3 separate regions of the Homo sapiens genome follow, and all the other regions are linked to region 2. Evidence: promoter capture Hi-C in human tissues and cell types (Jung and others, 2019). All regions are on one chromosome and are shown on one strand. Each heading gives the region's core, a stretch centred on a gene start or on the middle of the fragment in contact. The rest is flanking DNA. Distances are from core to core; before and after follow the strand shown.

Region 1 (4,131 bases), core at 93-2,592, 660 kb before region 2:
TGCCAAAAGTGCCTGCTTTGCCTGGGTGGCTTTGAGGGCTTGATAAGCCTTCCTCTTTTTCAGGAGATTTTCTGGAACCAAAGGGATTTTTCTTTGCCTGATGCAGAAAATTGAGATCAGAGATAACATTTAGAAAAGAACACTTGGCCGGGCTCGGTGGCTCAAGCCTGTAATCCCAGCACTCTGGGAGGCCGAGGTGGGTGGATTACCTGAGGTCAGGAGTTCGAGACCAGCCTGACCAACATGGTGAAACCCCCGTTTCTACTAAAAATAAAAAATCAGCTGGGCGTGGTGGCGCACGCCTGTAATCCCAGCTACTCGGGAGACTGAGGCAGGAGAATCGCTTGAACCCGGGAGGCGGAGGTTGCACCGAGCCGAGATCCCGACACTGCGCTCCAGCCTGGGGGACAGAGCAAGACTCCGTCTCAAAACAAAAACAACAACAAAAAAGAAAACGAACATTCAATGGATTTCCAAACCAATTCAATATCCTGGGCTTTAGGGAACATTACTGTTTTCAAGTATCTGAAGAAAGATTCCCCTGAAACCTGCGGTTTCTGACTCCAGGCCTCATAAATCCATCCCTAATAGTCACTCATCCCCAAAGCCTCGGAAAATAATGAATCCTTTAGCCTCTGGGTTCGTATAAGTTAACAGGGTTTTCACGGCCACAGTTCTTCATAGGCACTAGCAGCGACGAATCTATGGGGTTGGGGCGGGGGCAGGCCTATCTGCAGAGTTAACACTTGTCGGGCTGGGTGAATTCAACTGTGGCACTCCAGCCCGCTGCCTGAAGTCAATCCTCGCCTCTCCAGATAACCCGAACTTGACCGCGGTCCCCTCCCTCCTCCGCCACAGCGCTACTCCTCCTCACCCCCACCCTTTGTAAACTGTGGCCTTTTCTATTCCTAGAGCCCACAGGAATCCGCCACCAAGGCATAAACACCGTGGATGGCACCGGATACTCAAGACCCCACTCCAGATATTCAAAGCCCCAAACACTCACTCTTGCTCCGCCATCTTTCTAGTGGTGCAGCTACTGATCATGCGCAACCCCACCACATGGGGAAGACAGCACACGCTCTGTTTACTTGACCATAGAGACGTCTGTTCTAGCTCACGCTGGAGGACCAGTCAGCGTTCACTTAGCCGCAGTGAGCCCTTGAGGTCCCGCTAACCCCGATTCCTGCCAAAAGTTGCACCGCTTCTTAGGGTTTTTAGAGCCTGTGTTATTTTCAAAACCCAGCCCTTTTCTTGTAAGTTACAGTTTCATCACAAGCGGCCTGGCTGTGGACAGCAAAGTGCTTCCCACAATGCACCTATGGCGTCCGCTCCTAGCTACGGCGCCGCACTTCCGGCGCGGCTGTGCTGCGTCTCTGGGGAGGAAGACAGGCAAACTCCGCGAAACATTTTCGCTCTGTGGAAAAACTTGGAGGCTATGGCTTTGGCTCTCACGTGTAGGTGGAAGTGTTTGTTGAGGACTTAGAGTGGTAAAGCAGGTAGCTGCAATTCCGTCTGCTTGGCCCCGTCGATGCGTCCTTGAACACGTTATTTAACCCCTCTATACTGCGGCTTCATTACCCATAAAATGGGTGTACAGTAATAATAGGTCTACCTAATGGCGTTACGAGGATTACAGGAGATTAGATAAAGCGTTTAGCAGTGTCTGTCAGCACTATGTTTGTTACTATTACTGCTGGACCGAAAACTACAACATGCTTCCTTCCCGTCTAAAACCGTTACACAGGCCGGGCGCGGTGGCTCACGCCTGTAATCCCAGCACTTTGGGAGGGAGGCCGAGACGGGAGGATCACCTGAGGTCAGGAGTTCGAGATCAGCCTGGCCAACACGGCGAAACCCCGTCTTGGGCGGAGGTTACAGTGAGCCGAGATCGCGCCACTGCCCACCAGCCTGGGCGACAGAGCAAGACTCCGTCTCAAAAAAACAAAAAGAAAAGAAAAGAAAAAAAAAGAATAAAAATAAAACCCTTATGCAGCTCTCATCGCCCGGAATTTGCGTTCTTCCCTCCCAGTCTATATAGAATCCTGAAAAACAGTAGGTCGGGCCGGTGGCTTTCACCTGTAATCCCAGCACTTTGGGAGGCCAAGGCAGGTGGATCACTTGAGGTCAGGAGTTGGAGACCAGCATGGCTAAGATGGTGAAACCCCGTCTCTACTAAAAATACAAAAAATTAGCTGGGCGTGGTGGCTCGCGCCTGAAGTCCCAGAAGGCGGAGGCTGCGTGAGCCGAGTTTGTGCCACTTGCACTCCAGCCTGGGCGACAGAGCGAGACAGTCTCAAAAAAAACAAGAAATAAATTTTTTTTAAAATTAAAAATCCTGAAAAACAACACAAGTCTTATCATCTCTGGAAACCTCCAGAGCAGCGCTTCTCAAGCATTAATAGTGAATAGGAGTCACCTGAAGATTTTACTAAAATACAGATTTTTATTCAGGAGGCCGGGTGGGGAGCTGATATTCTGCTTTTTTTTTTTTTTTTTTTTTGAGATGGCGTCTCGCTCTGTCGCCCAGGCTGGAGTGCAGTGGCGCGATCTTGGCTCACTGCAAGCTCCGCCTCCCGGGTTCACGCCATTCTCCTGCCTCAGCCTCCCGAGTAGCTGGGACTACAGGCGCCCGCCACCACGCCTGGCTAATTTTTTGAATTTTTAGTAGAGATTTCACCTTGTTAGCCAGGATGGTCTCGATCTCCTGACCTCGTGATCCGCCCGCCTCGGCCTCCCAAAGTGCTGGGATTACAGGCGTGAGCCACCGCACCTGGCCAATATTCTGCATTTTTAACAGGCTTCAGAGTGACGCTGGTGCTACTGGTCTATGGGCTGACTAGTAAGACTCTAGAGTAGTGTCTGATTTCCCTCAGGACATTATTATATTTTTAATATTTCTTCCACATGATACTAGGGGGGGCAGGAACCATGACTGCTTACTCATCACTGATCCTAAGGATCTAGCACCAATTTCTCGATTTTGGCACTATTGATACTGATACTGGTGGCAGCTAAAGGCCTCGTGTTGCCATGTAACTAGTCCAACCGGAAAGAGTGCCATGGGCACAGGTCACTTTCTGATGAGTAAGTGTCAGGACAACCCAGCATTCAAGGTCACACACTGAAAGAGGGAGGCTCATTCTCTTTCAGCACCTCACCATGTGTCTTTGTAAAGAGGCTAAACACAAGGGTCACCAAAGTGTAAGACATTCACTAAATAGTAAACAAAAAAGCAAAAAGTTAAATGTTTTGTGATTTTTCCTGTCTATGGATAAAAGGTAGAGTCTGTGGTACCAATAATATTAAAAGGAGGAGGAATTTTAGGGTTAACAATACTTCAGCCAGGCGGCGATGGCTCACGCCTGTAATCCCAGCACTTTGGGAGGCCGAGGCAGGCAGATCACTTGAGCTCAGGAGTTCAAGACCATCCTCAGCAACATGGCAAAACCCTGTCTCTACCAAAAATACAAAAATTAGCCGGGCATGGTGGCACATGTCTGTAGTCAGCTACTTGGGAGGCTGAGGCACGAGAATTGCTTGAACCTGGGAGGCGGAGGTTGCAGTGAGCCGAGATTATGCCACTGCACTCCAGCCTGGGCAACAGAGCAAGAATCTGTGTCAAAACAACCCCCAAAAAACCAGTACTCCAAGACTGAATGGGATTGAGGCCAGGATTCAGGAATGGCTTTCTACTGCCAGCAGATGGTGCTAGGAGAATACTTATTCTCAGTGCCAATCCCCTTACTCCACCAGACTGACAAAGGGAAAAAGAAAGGAGCCCCACCTCTTAAACAATTATTCACTAACTGAATATGTGTTTATTGAGCATTGAGCATGTGTCCTAGATTTTTTTTCAAAGTGAGGTTACTGAGGTCAGGTGTGGTGGCTCATGCCTGTAATCCCAGCACTTTGGGAGGCTGAGGCAGGCAGATCGCCCGAGGCCAGAAGTTCAAAACCAGCCTGGCCATCATGGTGAAACCCCATCTCTACTAAAAATACAAAAATTAGCTGGGTGTGGTGGCGCATACCTGTAATCCTAGCTACTTGGGAGGTTGAGGCACGAGAATCGGTGCACTCCAGCCTGGGCGACAGAGTGAGACCTTGTCTCCCCCCACCAAAAAAAAAAAA
Region 2 (4,112 bases), core at 1,271-3,770:
GGTAGTAATAACTATTTGTGGGGAGAAAAAAAAAACAACTTTATATTTGTACAGTTCTTTATTTGGATGCTATAAAATATTCTCATAAACTTGATCTTTTTATTTTTAATCTTCTCAACAACCTTGTGAGGCAGGTGAGGTAGAAACTTAATGGCACAAATAGTGGATGACATCTATAGTGTATCATTACATGGCAGTATTGTACTAAACACCATATATTGGTATTGCATTGAATTCCCAAGCAACTATTGGAAGCAGGAACTACTGTTATCTTTTTTTTTTTTTTTTTTTTGACATATGAGCAAACTGAGGCTGAGGGTAAGGAAGTAACTTGCTCAAAGTCACTCAACTAACTGGTAAGCCTGGGATTAGAAACCAGATCTGATTATAAGGCTAGAGTTTTCCATTAGGCTAAAATGCATATGTGAAAGCACTTTGGGGAAATAAAGCTTAGAAATGTGAACAAATGGGCCAAGTGCAGTGGCTCATACCTGTAAAACCAGCACTTTGGGAGGCCAAGGTGAGAGGATTGCTGGAAGCCAGGAGTTTGAGACCAGCCTGGGCAACATAGCAAGTCTCTGTCTCTACAAAACAATAAAAATAAAATAAAAAATGGTCGCAAACACCTGTAGTTTTAGATACTCCAGAGGCTGTGGTGTGAGGATCACTTAACCCCAGGAGTTTGAGGCTGCAGTGGGCTATGATCAAGCCAGTGCTCTCCAGCCTGGGCAACAGAGCGAGACACTGTCTCACACACACACACAAAAAAGACAATATAGTATTATAGAAGCAGACTTTAAGATGAGGAGAAAGTAAAAGGAAAAATAAAAATAAATTTTTAAAGATTTGCACAAATGGAATAAGTTTTTTTTTTGGAGACGGAGTCTCGCTCTGTTCCCTAGACTGGAGTGCAGTGGTACAATCTCAATCTCGGCTCACTGCACTCTCTGCCTCCCGGGTTCAAGAGATTCTCCTGCCTCAGCCTCCCAAATAGCTGGGATTACAGGTGCACACCACCATGCCTGACTTTGTATTTTTAGTAGAGACAGGGTTTTGCCATGTTGGCCAGGCTGATCTTGAACTTCTGACGTCAGGTGATCCACCCGCCTTGGCCTCCCAAAGTGCTGAGTGCTGGAATTACAGGTGTGAGCCGAGCCACTGCACCTGGCCTTTTCTTTTCTTTTCTTTTTTTTTTTTTTTTTTTAGACAGAGTCTCATTGTGTCTCCCAGGCTGGAGTGCAGTGGCACGATCTTGCCTCACTGCAACCTCCACTTCCCGGGTTCAAGCAATTCTCGTGCCTCAGCCTCCTGAGTAGCTGGGACTACAGGCACACAACGATGACACCCCACTAATTTTTTGTATTTTTAGTAGAGATGGGGTTTCACCATGTTGGCCAGGCTGGTCTCGAACTCCTGACCTCAGGTGATCCGCCCACCTCAGCCTCCCAAAGTGCTGGGATTACAGGCGTGAGCCACCGCACCCAGCCTGAAGAAGTTTTTATTATAGCAAATCCCAGTTATACATCTTTTTACTTGGAAAAAATTATGGTGGACATTAATAATTAGACAAAACACTTTGGCTTGTTGTAAGTGAAGCTAGCCATTGTAAATTCCTAAATACTAGAGTAACATAAGGAAATGAATAATTTAGAAAGATCAGTAGGACAGCGGTATACAAAATGGTTGGAGCACAGGAATTCCAATTGGTGTGGGGAAGGAAGAAAGGATTAAGAACCATAATTAGAAAGCCGCTGCAATAAGGTAACTGAGTGGCAACTGGACCCAATGGTAGTGGCCGACTTTTCTTTTTCTTGTTAAATATAGATTTTGTTAAAATTTTGAAAAATGCAAAAAAAATTGAAAAATGCAAAAATAGGAAAATAAATCACCCATTATTCCAGTACTGAAGTAAATGGTGTCAATACACTAGTTTCAGTCCGGGCTTTGTGGTTCATGCCTGTAATCTCAGTCCTTTGGGAGGCCAAGGCCAGAGGATCACTTGAGGACAGGAATTCAAGACCAGCCCACAAAATAACGAGAGCAATATAATGAGACCCTGTCTCTACAAGAAAATTAAAAAAAAAAACAAAAAATTAGTCGGCTGTGGTGGCACGCACTTGTAGTCCAGCTACTTGGGAGGCTGAGGCAGGAGGATCACTTGAGGCAGGAGTTTGAGGCTGCAGTGAGCTATGACTGTGCCACTGCACTCCAGCCTGGGCAGCCGAGTGAGACTCAGTCTCTAAAAGGAAAAAATAAGTAAATAAATAAATGTGTGTGTGTGTGTGTGTGTATACACACACAACAATTTAAAGGTGAAAACATTAATAGGGCTTGGTAACTATCCAGACACTGGCCGGAGCCAAACCAGCCTGGCCAGCCAACTGTCCCGCCCCCAAAAAGCACAGGTTCATGTCTCTATGGTTGTTCCAGCGCCGGAACATGAGGATGTACTCTCTTCTTTTGCGGAACTCTATGGTCTGAGGACGCCGCTGTAACCCCGGAAGCAATCCTGAGAGGTCGGGACCGGCAAGATGGCGGCGCGGACAGCGTTCGGTGCTGTGTGCCGGCGCCTCTGGCAGGTACTGGATTGGCTAGGGAGACTAGGAGGGCTGACCGGGATAGTTGCTTTTAAGTTTCCCTGCCACCAGCCGCTCTGCCCATCAGGATTTTTCCTGATATTTATCCCTCACCTCGCGCCGTTTACAGGAAAGTGACGAGAAAGGGGCTAGTTTTATCAGAATTCTCTCATGGAATTAAATATAAGTTAGTGAGTCCAGGCAAAGATAGGAACAAGAATAATCGTAGAATGTCAGAGCTGGAAAAGATTTTGTACTTCGTATGTTCCAAAACCCCTCCTTTCACGCTTGCAAAATAAACTGAGGCTCAGAGAAGACAGGAAATTTGCCTCGCGAAAATTAGAGGCTGAGCTGGTGCAAGATATCAGACTCTTCCCATGGAACTAAATTGAGATGCTTTCCTGGCATCCAAATTTAGATGAAGGTCTCAAGCCAGAGAAGTGGGTTAGATATCCTCTGCGCAGTTATTTGCAGGAGGAGCAAAAACTTTTCAGCAGCGGTTCTCCTGCTTTTTGGCCTTGGGACCACTTTACACTTTCGGAGTTCAGGACTCCAGAGAGCTTTTGTTTTTGTGGGTTTTTGCTATCTATATTTAGCTTTTTGGAAAATAAAACTTAAGAATATATATTGATTTAAAAGTAACACTAACTCATTACATGTTACAACTAATACTTTATGAAAAATATATTTTCTGAACAAACTGAGTAAGGAGCAGCAATGTTTTACATTTTTGCAGCTCTCTTTAATTTCTGGCTTAATAAAAGCTAGATTCAAATCTGCTTCTGTATTTAATCTTTTCCTATATCACACCTCAGGCTGTCACGGGAAAACTTCACTGTACACTGGTAAGAGAATGAGTGGAAAAGTTGTAAATGACGTTTTGGTTTTATGAAAATAGTTTTGATTTCCCGGATCCCCTGAAAGTGTCTCAGACCCCACAGACGTCCTCAGACTACACTTTGAGACCACCGTTTTTGTTTTTGTTTTTGTTTGGAGACGGAGTTTCGCTCTTGTCGCCCAAGCTGGAGCGCAATGGCACGATCTCGGCTCACTACAGCCTCCACCTCCCGGGTTCAAGTGATTCTCCTACCTCAGCCTCCCGAGCAGCTGGAATTACAGTCATGCGTCACCATGCCCAGCTAGTATTTGTATGTTTAGCAGAGACGGGGTTTCACCATGTCGGTCAGGCTGGTCTCGAACTCCTGACCTCAAGTGATCCGGCAGCCTCGGCCTCCCAAAGTGCTGGGATTACAGCCTTGAGCCACCGCACCCGGCCTGAAAACCACTGTTCTTGAGAAAAGTCAGATGGTATTAGAGATTGAAATTTTTGAACTGCTTTATTAAGACAAATTTACCCAGACAGCCCTCCCTTCCAAACCACCACTCCCCCAACACACACACACACACACACACACACACTCTCTCTCTCTCTCTCTCTCTCTCTCAAGAAATACAAAGAAAAAATGCAATTTAAAAACTTCTTGGCCGGGCACGGTGGCTCACGCCTGTAATCCCTACACTTTGGGAGGCCGAGGT
Region 3 (4,041 bases), core at 1,202-3,701, 680 kb before region 2:
AAAGTGACTCAGATAAAATCATTGTTCCTTTAAACAAGGAACAGGTTAGACAAGCCTTTATCAATTCTGGTGCATGGCAGATTGGTCTTGCTGATTTTGTGGGAATTATTGACAATCATTACCCAAAAACAAAAATCTTCCAGTTTTTAAAATTGACTACTTGGATTTTACCTAAAATTACTAGACATAAACCTTTAGAAAATGCTCTGACAGTGTTTACTGATGGTTCCAGCAATGGAAAAGCGGCTTACACCAGGCCAAAAGAACGACTCATTGAAACTCAATATCACTGGGCTCAAAGAGCAGAGTTGGTTGCTGTCATTACAGTGTTACAAGATTTTAATCAGCCTATTAACATTGTATCAGATTCTGCATATGTAGTACAGGCTACAAAGGATGTTGAGACAGCCCTAATCAAATATAGTATAGATGATCAGTTAAACCAGCTGTTTAATATGTTACAACAAACTGTAAGAAAAAGAAATTTCCCATTTTATGTTACTCATATTCGAGCACATACTAATTTACCAGAGCCTTTAACTAAAGCAAATGAACAAGTTGACTTGCTAGTATCATCTGCATTCCTGGAAGCACAAGAACTTCATGCCTTGACTCATGTAAATGCAACAGGACTAAAAAATAAATTTGACATCACATGGAAACAGGCAAAAAATATTGTACAACATTACACCCAGTGTCAGATTCCACACCTGCCCACTCAGGAGGCAGGAGTTAATCCCAGAGGTCTGTGTCCTAATGCGTTATGGCAAATGGATGTCACACATGTACCTTCAGTTGGAAAATTGTCATTTCTCCATGTGACAGTTGATGCTTATTCACATTTTGTAAGGGCAAACTGCCAGACAGGAGAAAATACTTCCCATGTTAAAAGACATTTATTATCTTGTTTTGCTGTCATGGGAGTTCCAGAAAAAATTAAAACGGATAATGGGCCAGGATACTGTAGTAAAACATTTCAAAAATTCTTAAATCAGTGGAAAATTACACATACAACAGGAATCCCTTATAATTCCCAAGGACAGGCCATAATTGAAAAAACTGATAGAACACTCAAAGCTCAATTGGTTAAACAAAAAAAGGAAAAAAGACAGTAAGGAGTATAACACTCCCCAGATGCAACTTAATCTAGCACTCTATACTTTAAATTTTTTAAACATTTATAGAAATCAAACCACTACTTCTGCAGAACAACATTTTACTGGTAAAAAGAATAGCCCACATGAAGGAAAACTGATTTGGTGGAAAGACAAGAAAAATAAGACATGGGAAATAGGGAAGGTGATAACATGGGAGAGAGGCTTTGCTTGTGTTTCACAAGGAGAAAATCAGCTTCCTGGTTGGATACCCACTAGAAATTTAAAGTTCTACAATGAACCCCTTGGAGATGCGAAGAAAAGCGCCTCTGCGGAGACAAAAAACCCTCAATTGAGCATCATCGACTCGCCAGGTAAATAAAATGGTGATATCAGAAGAACAGATGAAGTTGCCATCCACCAAGGAAGCGGAGCCACCGACTTGGGCCCAATTAAAGAAGCTGACACAGTTAGCTAAAAAAAGCCTAAAGAACACAAGGGTAATGTGAACTCCAGAGAATATACTGCTTACAGCTTTGATTATTATATCAACGGTAGTAAGTCTCCCCATGTCTGCAGGAGCAGCTGCAACTAATTATACTTACTGTGCCTATGTGCCTTTCCCACCCTTAATTTGGGCAGTCACATGGATGGATAATCCTGTTGAAGTATATGTTAATAATAGGGCATGGGTACCAGGCCCCACAGACGATTGTTGCCCTGCCCAACCTAAAGAAGAAGGAATGATGATAAATGTTTCCACTGGGTATCATTATCCTCCTATTTGCCTAGGGAAGGCACCAGGATGTTTAATGCCTACAACCCAAAACTGGTTGGTAGAAGTACCTACCGTCAGTGCCACCAGTAAATTTACTTATCACATGGTAAGTGGAATGTCACTCGGGCCACAGATAAATAATTTAGAGGACGCTTCTTATCAAAGATCATTAAAATCTGGGCCTAAGGGGAAGCCTTGCCCCAAGGAAATTCCCAAAGAATCAAAAAGCCCAGAAGCCTTAGTTTGGGAAGAATGTGTGGCTAATACTGCGGTGGTATTACAAAACAATGAATTTGGAACTACTATAATATTATATAATAGTTATATATTATATTATATTATATACAATTATATTATATATAATTGTATGGGCCAGACTCACTCATGTTTACAGGCCCCATCCATCTGGCCCATTAATCCGGCCTATGATAGTGATTTAATTGAAAGGCTGGACCAGGTTTATAGAAGGCTAGAATCACCCTATCCCTGGAAATGGGGTGAAAAGGGAATTTCATCACCTCGACCAAAGTTAGTTAGTCCTGTTACTGGTCCTAAACATCCAAAATTATGGAAGCTTACTGTGGCCTCGCACTACATTAGAATTTGGTCTGGAAATCAAGCTACAGAAACAAGAAATCGTAAGCCATATTATACTATCAACCTAAATTCCAATCTGACAATTCCTTTACAAAGTTGTGTAAAACCCCCTTATATGCTAGTTATAGAAAACATAGTTATTAAACCAGATTCCCAAACTATAACCTGTGAAAACTGTAGATTGTTTACTTGCATTGATTTGACTTTTAATTGGCAGCGCCATATTCTGCTAGTGAGGGCAAGAGAAGGTGTGCGGATCCCTGTGTCCATGGACCGACAGTGGGAGGCTTCGCCATCTTCCATATTTTAACGGAAGTATTAAAAGGAATTCTAACTAGATCCAAAAGATTTTTACTTTGATTGCAGTGATTATGGGCCTTATTGCAGTCACAGCTACTGCTGCAGCTGCTGGAATTGCTTTACACTCCTCTGTTCAAACTGCAGAATATGTAAATGATTGGCGAAAGAATTCCTCAAAATTGTGGAATTCTCAGACCCAAATAAATCAAAAATTGGCAAACGAAATTAATGATCTTAGACAAACTGTCATTTGGCTGGGAAATAGGCTCATGAGCTTGGAATATCTTTTTCAGTTACAGTGTGACTGGAATATGTCAGATTTTTGTATTACACCCCAAGCCTATAATGAGTCTGAGCATCACTGGGACATGGTTAGATGCCATCTACAGGGAAGAGAAGATAATCTTACTTTAGATATTTCAAAATTAAAATAACAAAATTTTGAGGCATCGAAAGCCCATTTAAATTTGGGAACTGAGGCAATCGTGAAAGCTACTGATGGCCTCACAAATCTTAACACTGTCACTTGGTTAAAAACCATCAGAAGTTCCACTATTGTAAATTTCATATTAATCCTTGTATGCCTGTTCTGTCTGTTGTTAGTCCACAGGTGTATCCACCAGCTCCGAAGAGACAGCGACCAGCAAGAACGGGCCATAACGACGATGGCAGTTTTGTCAAAAAGGGGGATATGTAGGGAAAAGAGAGATCCGACTGTTACTGTGTCTACATAGAAAAGGAAGACATAAGAAACTCCATTTTGATCTGTACCCTGAACAATTGTTTTGCCTTGAGATGCTGTTAATATGTAACTTTAGCCCCAACCTTGTGCTCACGGAAATATGTGTTGTATGGAATCAAGGTTTAAGGGATCTAGGGCTGTGCAGGATGTGCCTTGTTAACAAAATGTTTACAGGCAGTATGCTTGGTAAAAGTCATCGCCATTCTCCATTCTCGATTAACCAGGGGCACAATGCACTGCAGAAAGCCACAGGGACCTCTGCCCAGGAAAGCCAGGTATTGTCCAAGGTTTCTCCCCACTGAGACAGCCTGAGGTATGGCCTCGTGGGACGGGAAAGACCTGACCATCCCCCAGCCCGACACCCGTGAAGGGTCTGTGCTGAGGAGGATTAGTAAAAGAGGAAGGCCTCTTGCGGTTGAGATAAGAGGAAGGCCTCTGTCTCCTGCATGCCCCTGAGAACGGAATGTCTCAGTATAATACCCGATTGTACATTCGTTCTATTCTGAGATAGGAGAAAACCGCCCTGTGGC

The links. Contacts are between HindIII fragments. The study calls those that stand out against the background at their distance.
Region 1: a contact is called between the fragment with the promoter of RPL7L1 here and the fragment with the promoter of MRPS10 in region 2, in 1 of the 25 tissues and cell types used here (IMR-90 fibroblasts).
Region 3: a fragment that was not itself captured here is called in contact with the fragment with the promoter of MRPS10 in region 2 in 1 of the 25 tissues and cell types used here (lymphoblastoid cells).

What each region holds. Positions count from the first base shown.
Region 1 is chr6:42,876,827-42,880,957 of GRCh38, reverse strand. RPL7L1 (ribosomal protein L7 like 1) reads right to left here and starts at 1,342. Exons shown (of 6, transcript NM_001366481.3): 1 at 1,007-1,342; 2 at 1-97. The coding sequence starts at 1,047. RefSeq lists enhancers at 1,081-1,140, 416-1,372, 1,161-1,630, 1,373-2,330. The HindIII fragment of the contact is 12,927 bases long and covers 1-4,131 here.
Region 2 is chr6:42,216,269-42,220,380 of GRCh38, reverse strand. MRPS10 (mitochondrial ribosomal protein S10) reads left to right here and starts at 2,520. Exons shown (of 7, transcript NM_018141.4): 1 at 2,520-2,579. The coding sequence starts at 2,532. RefSeq lists enhancers at 2,353-2,632, 3,204-3,805, 3,806-4,112. The HindIII fragment of the contact is 13,512 bases long and covers 1-4,112 here.
Region 3 is chr6:42,894,087-42,898,127 of GRCh38, reverse strand. No RefSeq gene overlaps it. Among named protein-coding and RNA genes, the nearest start is that of PEX39, 5.3 kb to the right of the region's middle. The HindIII fragment of the contact is 6,847 bases long and covers 1-4,041 here.